2 separate regions of the Homo sapiens genome follow, and region 2 is linked to region 1. Evidence: promoter capture Hi-C in 16 types of primary human blood cells and fetal thymus (Javierre and others, 2016). All regions are on one chromosome and are shown on one strand. Each heading gives the region's core, a stretch centred on a gene start or on the middle of the fragment in contact. The rest is flanking DNA. Distances are from core to core; before and after follow the strand shown.

What was found. Contacts are between HindIII fragments. The CHiCAGO score rates a contact against its expected background, and 5 or more counts as called.
Region 2: a fragment that was not itself captured here is called in contact with the fragment with the promoter of RFPL3S in region 1 in 1 of 17 cell types (endothelial precursors); the score reaches 5.2 in endothelial precursors.

Annotation. Positions count from the first base shown.
Region 1 is chr22:32,369,889-32,372,588 of GRCh38, reverse strand. RFPL3S (RFPL3 antisense) reads left to right here and starts at 1,325. Exons shown (of 5, transcript NR_104232.1): 1 at 1,325-1,391; 2 at 1,648-1,690. The HindIII fragment of the contact is 20,480 bases long and covers 1-2,700 here.
Region 2 is chr22:32,136,914-32,139,613 of GRCh38, reverse strand. No RefSeq gene overlaps it. Among named protein-coding and RNA genes, the nearest start is that of C22orf42, 21 kb to the left of the region's middle. The HindIII fragment of the contact is 8,725 bases long and covers 1-2,700 here.

The sequences.
Region 1 (2,700 bases), core at 76-2,575:
CACTTTCAACAGCTTGTTTTCTTGGGCATATCATAAAAGTATTTGCAATTGGGTGTTATGTATCAGCCAGAATACACACGTAGTTATACATTTTGAAAGTTATCTAAAATTCTGCATTCAGAAACACTTTAATTATATGTATTAGGCTGGGCATGGTGGTTCACGCCTCTAATCCCAATACTTTGGGAGGTCGAGGTGGGTGGATTGCTTGAATCCAAGAGTTGAAGACCAGCCTGGGCACCATGGAAAAACCCCATCTCTACAAAATATTAGCTGAGCATGGCGGCAAGAACCTGTAGTCCCAGCTACATGGGAGGCTGAGTTGGGAGGATCACCTGAGCCTGGGAGGTCAAGGCTGCAGTGAGCCATGATCAAGCCACTGCACTCCAGCCTGAGTGACAGAGTGAGACCCTGTCTCAAATAAAAAATTATATGTATTCACCCAAAGTGTTCACCCCACCGAGAAGATGCACTGGTGAAAATATAGTGATTTTTTTTTCCTTTAAATACTCAGTGAATGGCCAGCCGTTTACATACACAATGGTAGACAAATTCCTCTGTGAATTCACAAAGTTTGGGAGATAAATAAGTGCATAGTAATATATAGAGATAAGTGGAAAAATAAGTTTCATAATTATATTGTGAGAGAAATATGATTTTTATAATATCAAGTAACACTTTTTTCTAATTCTGAACAGTTTATTGCTTCTAGAAACATTAGATCACTCAGGAATGGTAGAAATATGACTTTTTAGGGAAATATGACTTTTAAAATGTGACTTTAAAAAATGTCACTTTTTAAGAAACATGACTTTTATAACAATATCCATTTATGCTGTCTTTAATTCTGAACAGTTTGCTTATTGGTTCTAGAAATATTAGATGACTCAGGAATGGTAGAAATATTTGGCAATGGAATTTCGAATCGAGAATGGAACTTCTGGTTGTTACTAACATATCGGTTTTGCCCCTGCTCAGTTTGAAATTCTTGCCATTGAGTGTATTTTGGGGTACACAATTTCTCCTCCTAAAACTTATTTTAATAAGCACAGAATAGTAATTAATGAGCTTGGGTTTTGTTGTTTTTTTTTTAAGTAAAACGCCTAATCTTTTATTTTATTTTATTTTATTTTATTTTTTTACGGAGTCTCGCTCTGTCGCCCAGGCTGGAGTGCAGTGGCGCTATGTCGGCTCACTGCAAGCTCCGCCTCCCGGGTTCACGCCATTCTCCTGCGTCAGCCTCCCGAGTAGCTGGGGGCTCCCGCCACCACGCCCGGCTAATTTTTTGTGTTTTTAGTACAGACGGGGTTTCACCATGTTAGCCAGGATGGTCTCTATCTCCTGACCTCGTGATCCACCCACCTCGGCCTCCCAAAGTGCTGGGATTACAGGTGTGAGCCACCACTCCCTGCCGTAAAAGGCCTAATCTTTAATGACCCTCCTGTGCGTGTGAAAGCACTCTTGTTGGTGCAGCAGAAAGCGGACCTCACAATACACATTGTGACTTTACCCTGAGACGTTGATGATGCTCCTATCACCATGGTTATGTGATTGGGTATATCTTGCCCTCGGTCCTAACTGCCACTGTCTGTGCTGAGTTTTTCAAAGTTCATAGCAGGTTGAACATGCTTGCTGTCATTTTCACAGATTCTGGTCTTTCTTATGGGGAACCTGAGTTCCTGCATTAAAGGTATGTTCACATTGGCCTGTTGAATGCTGTCCTCTCAAATGTACTAGTTAATATTTAAAAATATATTTTATTAAAAAATTCTCCTCTGTATTTTTCATATGCAGTTATAAATGTGTTTCCCGGTTATGTTTTATTCCTCAATTTATATATTTGATTCTAGTATCAAGCAGGATGCCTTTGAGCTTTTCCTTTATTTAAAAGACATGTCTTATTTCCTGTTACATCTGGCACCCCTCAAACCACCCAATTAGGTATCCTTCTGGGAAAAATATGGCAAAGTATGTTTTAATGCAGTTTTTACCTAATTAAGAACCTATTAAAATCATTAATTTTAAAAATTAGGAGCAAAGCTAGAATGATGCAGATGTCTTTGAGGCTTTTAACACAACGAAGTGTGTCCATCTTTGTCTTTTGTTGTTGTTTTTTTGTTTGTTTGTTTGTTTTTGAGATGGAGTCTCACTCTGTCGCCCAGGCTGGAGTGCAACGGTGCGATCTCGGCTCACTACAACCTCCGCCTCCCGGGTTCAAATGATTCTCTCGCCTCAGCCTCCCGAATAGCTGGGATTTCAGGCACCCACCATCATGCCCGGCTAATTTTTGTATTTTTGTAGAGACAAGGTTTTACCATGTTGGCCAGGCTGGTCTTGAACTCCTGACCTCAGGTGATCCACCTGCCTCGGCCTCCCAAAGTGGTGGTGTTACAGGCGTGAGCCACCACACCAGGCCCTGGCCTGTTTTTAGTATGTCTTTCCTCTCTCCTTTTTCATGAAATGTGTATTCAGTTTAGTAAATTTGGAATATGTCATTTATATTCACATATTAACTTTTTGAAAAGAAGTAAGAATGTGTATTGTCTATGTGTCAGTGTGTGAAACAAAACACACTTATTTTTATGATTGGGGTTTATCCAAAATGATAGAGATAACAATTATAGTCAATCACCCAAACCACTTACCTTTCCAAAGGTAAATATAATCAAGTGTAATCATTTTTTCTCATCCAGAGAGTAG
Region 2 (2,700 bases), core at 178-2,677, 230 kb after region 1:
GTCAAAGAGCAGGTTAGCGCTTTAAGAAAAATCTGTTGTGTTTTTATTTTAATGTCCAGTTCACAGAAAAACTGGATGATACCCCTTTAACTTTAGCCAATATGTTTACACACAGAATTTTCTTTACAATTAATGTTTCAAAACTTGCTTAAACCTTCAAAACAATTTTTGTAACCTTTTAATGTAGGTAAAAATCCACATTCTTATGCTTCCTTATAATCCTTTTACCAAAGGCATATTTTACTTTCCTTATATACCTTGCACATAAACTGTTTCTTCAACAGTTTTACATTCAGGAGGATAATTAATTTAAATTATACAACATTTCTTGCATAAATTTCTTTTTCTAACACTTTTTTTCATGATTTTCACAGACAATTCTTCGACATGTCTCAACTTTCTGACTTATTGGAAACATCCCTTTCCTTAAACAACTAGTTAATTTATTTCAGGACAAGAATTTTCCATATAACATTCCTTTTTATATAAATTCTGCACCCCCACTTTTTTTCTTTTTTCTTTTTTTCGAAGATGATAACCATTCTTTTCCAAAGCAAACTTCCTTCAGGTCTGTGGACTAGACTGTCTAAGGCCACAGATTAGAAGTTACTATCATACACGTTACACTGTTAACTTTTAGCAAAACAACTTTACTTTTGTTGAAAACCTTGTAAGTGTGGGATTTCAATTATCCTTTGCTATTAATAAGACTTTGTTTAGTCCAGATTAACTTAGAATTGGTATAGATGGCTTTTTTTTTTCCTGGTTCTGTAAGTACTTCAAGGCTTGGCTGGGTGGCAAAGTTGAGCAGACCAATTATTAGGCAATTTTCCTAACTCTACTTCTACAAGAGTTTTCCTCAATTACAAAATACCCATTGTGGTTTTTCTCCTTAATCACCTGGGAGGAACTATCTATCATCCTGTCCTGAAGGTAGTTCCTCCTAGGTCTGGTCGGATCTTTGTATGGTAATTAAGATTTAAATTCCCTGTTAGGAAATCTTCTGGGTTAAGGGAATTTTCAGGGGTTTATGTTAAATCATCTTTTTCTAACGGAGTAGCCCCATACTTTAAGATTTTTGAGTTATTAAGCTACCTTTTTGCTTTTTTTTTTTTAACTTAGGATACTTCTGAACTGGTGAGGTGTGCTCACAATGAGGTTTCCTCTAAAAGTTATTTTTCTACTTTCTTCTGTCAGCAAAGCAGTTGCCGCTACAGACTGAATGCATTCGGGCCACCCGTGGGTTAATGGGTTCAAGGAATTCACACCAAATCAGAATCAAAACCAAAACCAAAGTGCAGATAAAGGACACGCCCGTTCGTCAAGCAATTTAAACCAAGTCAAAACCAAAACCAAAACCAAAACCAAAGTGCTGATAAAGGCACGCTGTGGGTGATCAGGCCATGCTTCCACTCAAATGGAGTGGACAAGTTCCCAAGACAGGTCCTGTCAAGCAATTCAAGTCAAAATCGAAACCAAAACCAAAGTGCCGATAAAGGCACGCCCATTTGTCAAGTAATTCAAACCAAGTCAAAATCAAAACCAAAACCAAAGTGCCGACAAAGGCACGCCCGTTTGCCAAGGAATTCAAACCAAGTCAAAATCAAAACCAAAACCAAAGTGCCGATAAAGGCACTCTGTGGGTGATCAGGCCATGCTTCCACTCAAATGGAGTGGGCAAGTTCCCAAGACCAGTCCTACCATGTTCCAGATATACGGACTCCAAGCGCCAGTTCCCTCCCGGTGCTCAGCCACTGCATTGATCCTCTGCTGGGGCCTGCCATGCACTGCTCTGACAAGGCATTCCACCGGGGCAAATGCCTACCCAGGAGCATGCTCAGGATCCACGTAGCTCAAGCTGGCCAGAGTCCCCTGCAGGGATGCTCCACAGGGCAAGCCTAAGCCACCTAAGGGGCTGCTTCACTTCCCGGTCAGGGAACCAAGAAATGTAGCAGGATGAGCCACAGACAAAACTCCTCAGACACCGGGTTAAAGAAGGAAGAGGCTTTATTAGGCCGGGAGGTCAGCAGACTTGCGTCATAAGAACAGAACCGAGCTCCCCAAAGAAAGAGTTCCTGGCCCTTTTAAGGGCTTACAACTCTAAGGGGTCCACGTGACAGGGTCGTGATAGACTGAGCAAGCATGGGGTACATGACTAGGTGGGGGTAAGCAAGGCAAGTATTTCTCCACACCATTGTCTGTGATCTATAGATAGCACAAGCGATTAGGGTGGGGGTTAATCTTCAGCCTACAGGCTAAAGCAACACCAGAGAGGATGGAAGTGAGACCCCTGGAGTTGTGGTTGTGGTCAGATTGGACCTTCCCGTGGCTGCTGAGACTCTGGGGCATTGGGGATACCTGAGGATGCCTCCCTGCTCTTACTTTGTGGTCACCAAGAGATCAGGGTTACCACAACCCTATAACGTAGAGAATCCCTGTCCCCTTCCATGCCACTTCACTCCTTAGGGAAGCAAACGCCCTCCCAGGAGCTCATTCCCATTCCTGGGCCACAATCAAAGGGAAAACCTGATCCAGACATGAATTTCCTTGGGCCTCTGCATTTCCAGACATCCTGTCATTGTATGCATGGGGCTGACTGTCTCATCTCAGCTTCAGAAGCGCAGGCAGAGTTGTGGACACCCTGCTGAGCAAATGCCCACCGGAGTCAGGGGTTCAGCTTTCCTGCACCACAGCTGCAGG